Regions from separate parts of the Homo sapiens genome. Here region 1 is linked to region 2. The links are contacts of gene promoters, found by promoter capture Hi-C in blood cells and fetal thymus (Javierre and others, 2016). All regions are on one chromosome and are shown on one strand. The core of a region is centred on a gene start or on the middle of the fragment in contact, and the rest is flanking DNA. Distances in the headings are between cores, read along the strand shown.

Evidence for each region. The method cuts DNA at HindIII sites, captures the fragments that hold promoters and counts their contacts. A CHiCAGO score of 5 or more calls a contact.
Region 1: a contact is called between a fragment that was not itself captured here and the fragment with the promoter of FSD2 in region 2, in 1 of 17 cell types (total B cells). The highest score is 7.6, in total B cells.

The regions. Positions count from the first base shown.
Region 1 is chr15:81,302,113-81,306,566 of GRCh38, forward strand. It overlaps IL16 (interleukin 16), which reads left to right. Exons shown (of 19, transcript NM_172217.5): 16 at 1,437-1,538; 17 at 3,796-4,054; 18 at 4,308-4,433. Among named protein-coding and RNA genes, the nearest start is that of STARD5, 20 kb to the right of the region's middle. RefSeq lists enhancers at 1,125-2,324, 1,709-2,239. The HindIII fragment of the contact is 1,130 bases long and covers 1,251-2,380 here.
Region 2 is chr15:82,802,761-82,807,342 of GRCh38, forward strand. It overlaps FSD2 (fibronectin type III and SPRY domain containing 2), which reads right to left and starts at 3,309. Exons shown (of 13, transcript NM_001007122.4): 1 at 3,206-3,309. RefSeq lists an enhancer at 3,593-3,692. The HindIII fragment of the contact is 1,284 bases long and covers 2,643-3,926 here.

The DNA.
Region 1 (4,454 bases), core at 566-3,065, 1.5 Mb before region 2:
CACCCTCTAGGTGCTGCCCCAGGCCTCCGTAGGCTTTTGGCACTAGAATGATCCAGGCTAGGATGAGAGGATAAGGAGGTTCTCGTTTTCCATACAAGGAGGCCTCATAGCTGCAATTTCCACATCAAGAGTGTAGGTGAGTCTGATGAGCCCAAGGTGCTGCTGTGCTGAGATTCTTTCGCTGTGGCTTTCACTTGTCACCTGGGACCATCATCCCCCAGGATCTTACTCAGTGCAAATGAAATAACAGAGGCAGAGCGTGTAAAACACAAAGAGCCATCCTGCCTGAGCTGCTCTGGGGAGAGTATTTGCTTTCTAACATGAGAAGAGCCTTCTACAAGGCAAGTAACCTGATACTTGGGTAAAAGTTGAGAGAGTTGGGCTAGTGTTGGGGCTTGGAGGTGAGGGTGCAGTGAGGTACATTCATCCTTCCATGCCTTTGGGTCTTAGGGGCTCCAAGTCTTAGGATCATAGGGACAGCTGCAAGTCAGGTGCTCTAGTGACGCTGAGCAAGTGAATTCTTTGACATAAGTTTACTCCTTAGTGCCAAGGTACAAACAGGTGCCCCAAGAACCTGTAGGTGTACTTTATTTGGTCTGCATGGTGATGAAAAAAATATTGAATTCTATACATGATAAAACCTGAATTGAAACCTGGACTTTAGGGAAGTGATCTGGTAGCGCTAGTTCTGTATGCCTACGTAGAGCTGACCCTTTGAGCAGATGTACTCGTTGGCGCTCTGCAGTTCCTATCACACATCTGCCCATTTGGCTCATTTTAGGGACCTGCCTGACTCCTATAGGCATCTGAGTTTGAGACCCCTGCTCTAGACTGGAATAGGAGTCTCTGACTGTGTCCTGGCTCCATGGGAGTCCCCGTCTAGGCTAGGAAGTACCGTAGTAATGTGTGTGTGTGTGTGTGTGTGTGTGTGTCACACTTGCACACTGTGCATTGGGGCAGGATGTTAGCTGGGCTTCCTTAGTGCTGCTGCTGTGACCCATGGAGAAGTAGAAGGGAAGAAGGAGCAACCAATTCCTGCAGAACAGCACTGACCCCTGTTTTGTTTTTTGTTGTTTTTTTTTTTTGTTTTGTTTTACCTGAAGTCCTACAACCTGACTTCATCTCACACTGTCCAATATGCTGATTTCTGGCTGACTTCATGGCACTCCCCCTGCCCGGCTGTGGACAGGGTGAATGAGAGAGGAAAATAATTATGCTTGCTGCTTTACATACATTTTTTTTTTCTTCTAAGCTTCCCATGACTCCTGAAGGTCCATTCTTTACAGATGAGGAAACTGAGGTTTGAGGAGGTGATGTAACTTGGAGGCTGGCCAAGCTGGGGTTTGAGATAACAAATCAGTCTGATGTCAGTCCGATGTTAAATTGTTCATCCTCTTGCAGTAAAATGTTTTTGAATGTATGTATTTCCTCTGCAGCAATTAGACGGCATCCATGTCACCATCTTACACAAGGAGGAAGGTGCTGGTCTTGGGTTCAGCTTGGCAGGAGGAGCAGATCTAGAAAACAAGGTGATTACGGTGAGTGGCCAAGTGAAGGGGCATGTCACAGCCAGAGGCAATGGTTCTGGGGGAGGGGGACACACTTGCCAGGAAGGGGCCCTGTGCTGGGGAAATGAAGAATGCATGACACTAGGCCACTGGGCAGGTCCTGTCCACTCAGCACATCCCAGAGCCTGGGGCTGCGTGGAGAGGGTAGCAGGCCTGGCCATGGGCATCTTTTCCTGTGGGTCCCACTATTCTGGCTCATCCAATCTGATCAGCATTGGCTGCTGCCTTCAGGTCACCTGTACCTGACCCAGATGGTTTCTGGTTCTGCCAGTTTTGTGGAGCCATGCTGCGGCTGCTCGCTCTCTAAAGCCGAGTGCATTGCTGTCATCCCAGGGCTGTGTTGTCTCAGGGTATCCTTTGTGTAGGCTGTGCTGGGCTCATTTGAATTTCCATGCCCAACTGAAAACAAATCCTCCAGTTCACAGCATCAGCCAGCATTCAACATACCACACCCCCTTGCAGTGGCAATCTGGCATGTTCCTGCGTGTCACTTCAGAGTCAATCATGTCAGTGGTGACTTCCTTGATTTCCTGATAAGTTTTCTATCACATAAAAAACACTTAAAACCTGTAAGTCTCTATTTCTCTCACTGAGTGCAGCTGAGTATTACAAAAAGATTCCTGACCGTGTAGTTTACTTTCTACTTGAAGAGGAGGAAAGAGAGCTTGCCTGTGGGAATGGCACTTTGGGTATTTTTCTCTGTCCATGAGTAGCAACTTCTGTCCACGTCATCTGGCCAGTCACCCTTGAGACACTGCAGACAACAGGAAACTAGGAGGAAGGCGCACATGTTGGCTGAGCACATGCACAAAAGCTTCTTTCTCCTTCTGTGTTTGAGCATTTCTCTTCCTTTCCAGATGATTAAAAGGGAACTAACGTAGAGCACCATCCACGGCCATGCTGAGCACTCACTGACCTGTTGTCTAAATTCATCCTACCCACACTTTGGATTGATAAATTGGTGGCATTTATGCTTCTTTTATAGAGGAGGAACCTGAGGTTCCTCCTTTAATTAACTTTAATCTTCGTTGGCCTAAAAATCCTCTAGCATTGAGGAACCTGAGGCTCAGAGGAGAGGTTCTGCTTCATGCTTGGATGTTACAGCCTGGGGATTCTAACCATGTAACAGAATTTTTCTAACACCAAAACAATTTAGAGAAGCAAAGAGCTTTGCTCCTATCATAAAAGCAAAACTACAGGTACCACATTTTAGTGGTTTCCATGCATGCTATCACTCAGTCCTCTTAATTATAATGGACCTCATTAAAGAGGCTGAGGCAGAGACATGAGATATTTTTGTGTGTTTGTTTATCCCACATATCTTGCAGAAAGGGGACCAAGAGGTGACTGGAGGTAAAGAGTCAGAATTTCTAGGGGAGGAGCTATAAAAATGTCTAGACTGCCTAGGAGAGTGTTTCTCAAAATGCATTCTGCCAAATGAGACCGAGAATTTCTCTATGAGAAAAGAATTCTTTGTTGAAACACTTTGGGAATCCCCATAATACCCTGCCAATACTTAGAAATCTGCCATGCAGATTTGCATTGTAGACCCTCTAAATGCCTTTTGCTTAGAAATCTGCTGCCATGCAAATTTGCATTGTAGACCCTCTAATGCCTTTTGCTTTTTAAAAGTAGACAATGTCAGAGCTTTTGTTTCACCCAGTATTCCTCAAGTTTCTTTGATTTTAAAAAATTTTTCTTGGCCGGGTGTGGTGGCTCATACCTGTAATTCCAACACTGTGCGGGGCCAAGGTGAGAGGATTGCTTGAGCCCAGGAGTTTGAGACCATCCTGGGCAACACTGGGAGACCCTGTCTCTATTTTTTAAAAAATAATAGGAAAAGCCTTTTTCTTACACAATACCCGTTAATATGCCATAGAATCAGTGCCTTGAGAAAACTACTCTGGGGACTTCTGACCTAGGGCAGGTGAAGCAAAAGATTTTATATGGAATCCCAACTAGAATCGTGGTGGTACACTATAGGACGTTGTGTTGGGATGGATTCTGAGGGCTTACCTGGTCATTACTGCTGGTGATCTCTGCTCTGGATGGAGAAGGAGGGAATGCTGGCCTCTGTGCCAGCAGCTCCAATCTAGGACACAATTATCTTTAATCTTTGTTGGCCTAAAAATCCTCTAGCATTGACTAACCGGTTCAATCCTCCTCCAGCAAGTATGTGGACTGGACTTGTGTGATTTCTGGTCCTGACTTCCTTTGGTTTGCTCAGGTTCACAGAGTGTTTCCAAATGGGCTGGCCTCCCAGGAAGGGACTATTCAGAAGGGCAATGAGGTTCTTTCCATCAACGGCAAGTCTCTCAAGGGGACCACGCACCATGATGCCTTGGCCATCCTCCGCCAAGCTCGAGAGCCCAGGCAAGCTGTGATTGTCACAAGGAAGCTGACTCCAGAGGCCATGCCCGACCTCAACTCCTCCACTGACTCTGCAGCCTCAGCCTCTGCAGCCAGTGATGTTTCTGTAGAATCTAGTAAGTTCTCCCAACTCAGTGGAAGCCACATGGGCCACATCCTCTTTGGCCATTTGGGGCCAGACCTGATGGGGCTACTCAGTAATTTGTGACCCCAAGAATGTGTGGCTGCCTAGTACACTGCCTGAGACGTGTTTACATGTGCCTGTGTGCAAACACGGGGGCTGTATCACCCCGGGCTCACTTGAAGCCCAGGGCATCTGTGGCCTGGGAGAGGAGAGGATCCCTAACAGAGACCTTGTGTTTTTCTCAGCAGCAGAGGCCACAGTCTGCACGGTGACACTGGAGAAGATGTCGGCAGGGCTGGGCTTCAGCCTGGAAGGAGGGAAGGGCTCCCTACACGGAGACAAGCCTCTCACCATTAACAGGATTTTCAAAGGTGTGGGGTGTGTCTGGTTCT
Region 2 (4,582 bases), core at 2,059-4,558:
CTCTGCTCCTGGGGCGTTATAGATTCCACCTGGTCATGGCAGAGTTAGTGTGTTATGGGGCAACATGGAATGACCTGGAAAGTCTGCACCCATGCAGAGGTCATCTGGTGAAGCCCTAGGTCCTTCTGTGACCCTGGCTAACCTTACCACATGCATGGTCTGTGGTGTTGGGCATCATTCATTGCCCCAGCTCTGAATGTTCATGGGGTTGGTGAGGTGTGAATTCAAGAGAACAGGATTGGGCTAGGCGCTGGGGGTACAATGGATGAGACACAGTTGCTGGTGTCAAGGAGGCTCCAGACAAGTGACTAAGGGATTATTACCCCATCTGGGGCTATGCACAACTTCTCAGAGACGCTGCTTTCCCTCTTTCCTGGGACCCCAGAGTACTTCTCCTTCCTAAAGCACAGAGTCTGTGCCAAAATCCCACTATTTCCCTCTGTGGCTCGAAATCTTGCTTGAAACCCTCCTGTCTCTACAGTCTGCTGACTGCGCGCACCATGGTCCTTCCTCAGGGGTGTCCCTGCCCAGGATAGCAGCATAGCTTATACAGCATATGTTGCTTTGTTCAGGCAGAAGTGGTACATCTGCACATCGTGCATTCTGAGGGCTCCATTACTGGCAAGTCCCAACTCTCCTGGGCACCAGGGATCCCCCACCCCATGCCATAGCTCTATACTCCCCAAGCAGCCCCACCTTCCCTAGCGGTAACCCTCTGTTCCTTCTGGCCGCGCTCAGGGTCTTCCATGTGAGACTCACCCTAGGCCCTGGCTCAGACTGTCCTGCCTGCTGAGAGCTCCCACTCTTCCCTATCTCACCACTGCTTCTTAAACCCCATACTCATCCAACATGGCCCTCCATGAAGTCCACTGCATTGCTACTATCCATGAATGAGAGCATGACATCCACCCCCTCCAGCACCAAACCAGAGACCAGAAGCTCATCCTTGACACCCCCAATCTAATTAATAACTAATTCATGCTGATTCTGACTCTACCTCTTGAATCTCTAAGTAATATCCCTTTTCCTGTCCCCTCTCCCTGCTCCCCAAGATCACTGCCCTCTGGATTCAGAGAGTCCTGTGTTTGCATTGTTTCTGCCACATCCTGGAAGTATGACTTCAGGAAAATCATCTCTCTAGGCCTAACTTTAATGGACTATAAAACAGCTCTATTAACAGTGTCTACCTCATAAGGTTGGCATTTAGATGAAATAACATAATGTACTTTATGCATAGTACATAGCTTAAAGTAAGTCCTCAGTAAGTGTTAGCTGCTGTTATTGTTGTTGTTCTTACTATCATTATCATGATTCCTACCTTAGTATCTCCCACCTGGGCTAGAAGCCTTCTACCTAGTCACTCATGGAGAGTGACCACAGCAGTGTGGAATCATCCATGGCTACTGTGGGAATATTTGTCCCTTGAAAACAGCCGATGATGAAAGAAGGCACCAAGCAGAACAGCCTCATAACCACGCACAGACATCAGCTATGAGATCATTCCTCTCCCAGGGGGCCCAGGCAGAGATATGGTATTCTAGGGATGGAGGTCCCTTGGAGAGCATCTAATTCAATTTCCTGATTTTATTCAGCAGGTCATGGATGTTTAAAAAAAATTCCTGATTTTAGGATGGCAAAACTGAGATCTTGTGAGGATAAAGGACTTGCTTATAGCCAATTTTCTTTTACAAAAATGTATCTGGGCTACTCTGTATTTAGCCCTGTGCTTGAATCCAAGCTTTTCACCTGACACACAACCAGTCAGGTGAAGAGCTTGGATTCAAACCCAGGTTTCCATTAAATCACACCATCTACAGACAGAGGAGCAGTTCACTAAAATAATGCTTACATTCCCATGTGCTACCCAAAGGGAAATAGCCAGGATTCTGTATGACCAATAAATCATCATGAGAAATTATTTCAACCAGAAGCTGGAATGTGAAACACCAAGTTGAACTGTCAGAAGACTGGAAAACACTTAGTGCAAATACAGATAAGAACACATGCTTTCAAGCTGGCACTTGCCCTTCGAACACACAACACAAAGTGGTCTCAACACAAACTGGCTCAGTGTCAAAGTAGGAATTTTGCAACACACCCTACAGTTAACAGTCACTTTTCCCCTCAACACCTAGACTCTTTCTTAACAAAATCAGGATTTGGGGAGAAAGGAAAGTTGACAATAAACTGTCATTTTATAAATGGTGAAACTAAAGCTTAGAGAAGTAAAGCAATTAGTCATAGTCCATTATGAATGTCTTTGCTGGATACCCTTTCCTCTATGCCAAGGGAAGCAGTTAAAAAAAATAAAAAAGATGTTTGTCTAAGGCTTATATGGGAGGTGTATCCCTGTGCATTACTTAGAAAAGTCCCCCAATAATTTTTTTTTTTTTTTTTTTTTAGAGACAGGTTCTTGCTATGTTGCCCAGACTGGTCTTGAACTCCTGGGCTCATGCAATCTGCCACCTCACTTGGCTTGTTTATTAACCTTTTATGGATCATGGGCATATCTACTGAATCTACTGAAACCTGTGAATTCTCTTCCCAGAAGTGATTCCATAAGGGCAGGAACATAACTTTGCCTATAATTTTAGCTCTTCCATGCAGCCCTTGGCAATTCCTGAGCCACAGCAGTGAAAGAAAGCTTGCCTTAAAGTGTTACAGTGATATGAAATGATTCAAATCAGCTTTGCAGACACTGCCCGAACCTGAAAACTTTCTATAGGAGGAGGCTGTATGCATAACAAGTGAAAAATAATTACGATGCTGTTTTTTAGTATTTGAATCAATGCATGAAGTTATTATTTTTCAGCATGTACACACAGATTAAATAAAATGTATTTACAACACAATAGTATAGCCAGATGATATTCAACATCTATATTTCCAAACTGTTCTACCAAATGGTTCTAACTAATGGGTCCCAGCACTACAGATATCCTAAAGACACATTATAAGAATCACCAGCCCCTGTCTGCCTTCATCAGAGCCTCTCACATCCTGTCCCAACATCATGTTCAGTTAATGCGAATTCTTGCTTTAAGAAGGCACAGAAAACATTTACACTATTTATTGTAATTTAAACATCTGCAATTTACCATGATATCTCTTCCCACCTACAGGAAAGATATTGCATTAATATTGCAGCATTGAGTTTCTAATAATACAATTTGCATTGGAAGAATATGACTACCCCAAAACTTGCCTGCTAAGCGTCCATAAATGCTTCCTTTAACTCAGAGGACCTGGAGTTCTGCTAGAAAATTGAATCTGTGTTCAGCAGGCTTTCCTTCCTAGTGACCTCTGCATGCCCCACAGGCTACCCCTGCCTATTTTACACCAGAGTTCTGCAAGTGGGGCACCAAAGCTGGATGGTAACATGAGCTGGCTGCAGCCACAAATAGCAACAGGCCTGCCATGAGTGAAGGTCCAAATATAGACCTGCTGTGGCTGAGTTGCCACTTCTTACTACTCAAGTGTCACCAGGAGAGGTCACATGCCGTGCTCTGAGTTACTTTCTGTGCTGTGAGGGGTTTTAGACTTGTGGCTCTACCATGGGTCTCAGATGGCTGGTCATGTGGAGAGGGCTGGGGACTGTCACGGCAAGACCAGGAAGAAGATTCCTTTTTTTTTTTTTTAAGTGAATGAGTTTCTAAAATTATATGCAAAATTATGTCTGTGTCCTTATAGAATCACTTCCGGGAAGAGAACTCACAGGTTTCAATAGATTCTCAGAGGTGCTCATGAACCATACAAGGTTAAAAAACATTTTGGGGGCACTTTTCTAATCAAAGCACAGGACACACTTCCCATATAAGCCTTAAGCAAACATTATTATTTTTTTTTTTTACTTGCCATGGTATGGCATAGAAATGGGACTATCCAGCCAATACATTCCTTATGGACTATGATTGACTATTTCTCTAAGCTTTAGTTTAATAATTTATAAAATGACAATTTAGTGTTAATGTTCTTTTCTTCCAAAATTCTGACTCTGTTAAGAAGTTGAAAGAGTCTAGGTGTTGAGGAAAAAAGTGAGTGTTAACTGTGGGTGTGTTGCAAAATTCCTACTTTGATGCTGAGCCCACAGACCAGCATAACAGTATAATCTCTCTCTCCTCTCTCTCTCTCACATGCACGCACGCACACACACACACACACACACACAGTGTAATAGTCAGAGTTGTCCAGAGAAACAGAACCAATAGAATGTATACATATATGGAAACAGATTTATCATAAGGAATTGACTCATGTAATTATGAAGACCAAAAAGTCCCAAGATCTGCAGTTAGTAAGCGGAAGATCCAGGAGAGCCAATGGTGTGGTTCTAGTCCAAAGGCCAGCAGGCTCAAGACCCTGGAGAGCCAATGTTTCCATTTGAGTTGGAAGGCAGGAAAAAAACCCATATTCCCACTTGAAGGCAGTTAGGCAGGAAGAATTCCCTCTTATTCAAGCTTTTGTTCTATTCAGACCTTCAATCGATTGGATGAGGCCCACTCACATGAGGGAGGGCAACCAGTTTTACTCAGTCTACTAACTCAAAGGTTAATCTCATCCAGAAACACCATCACACACACAC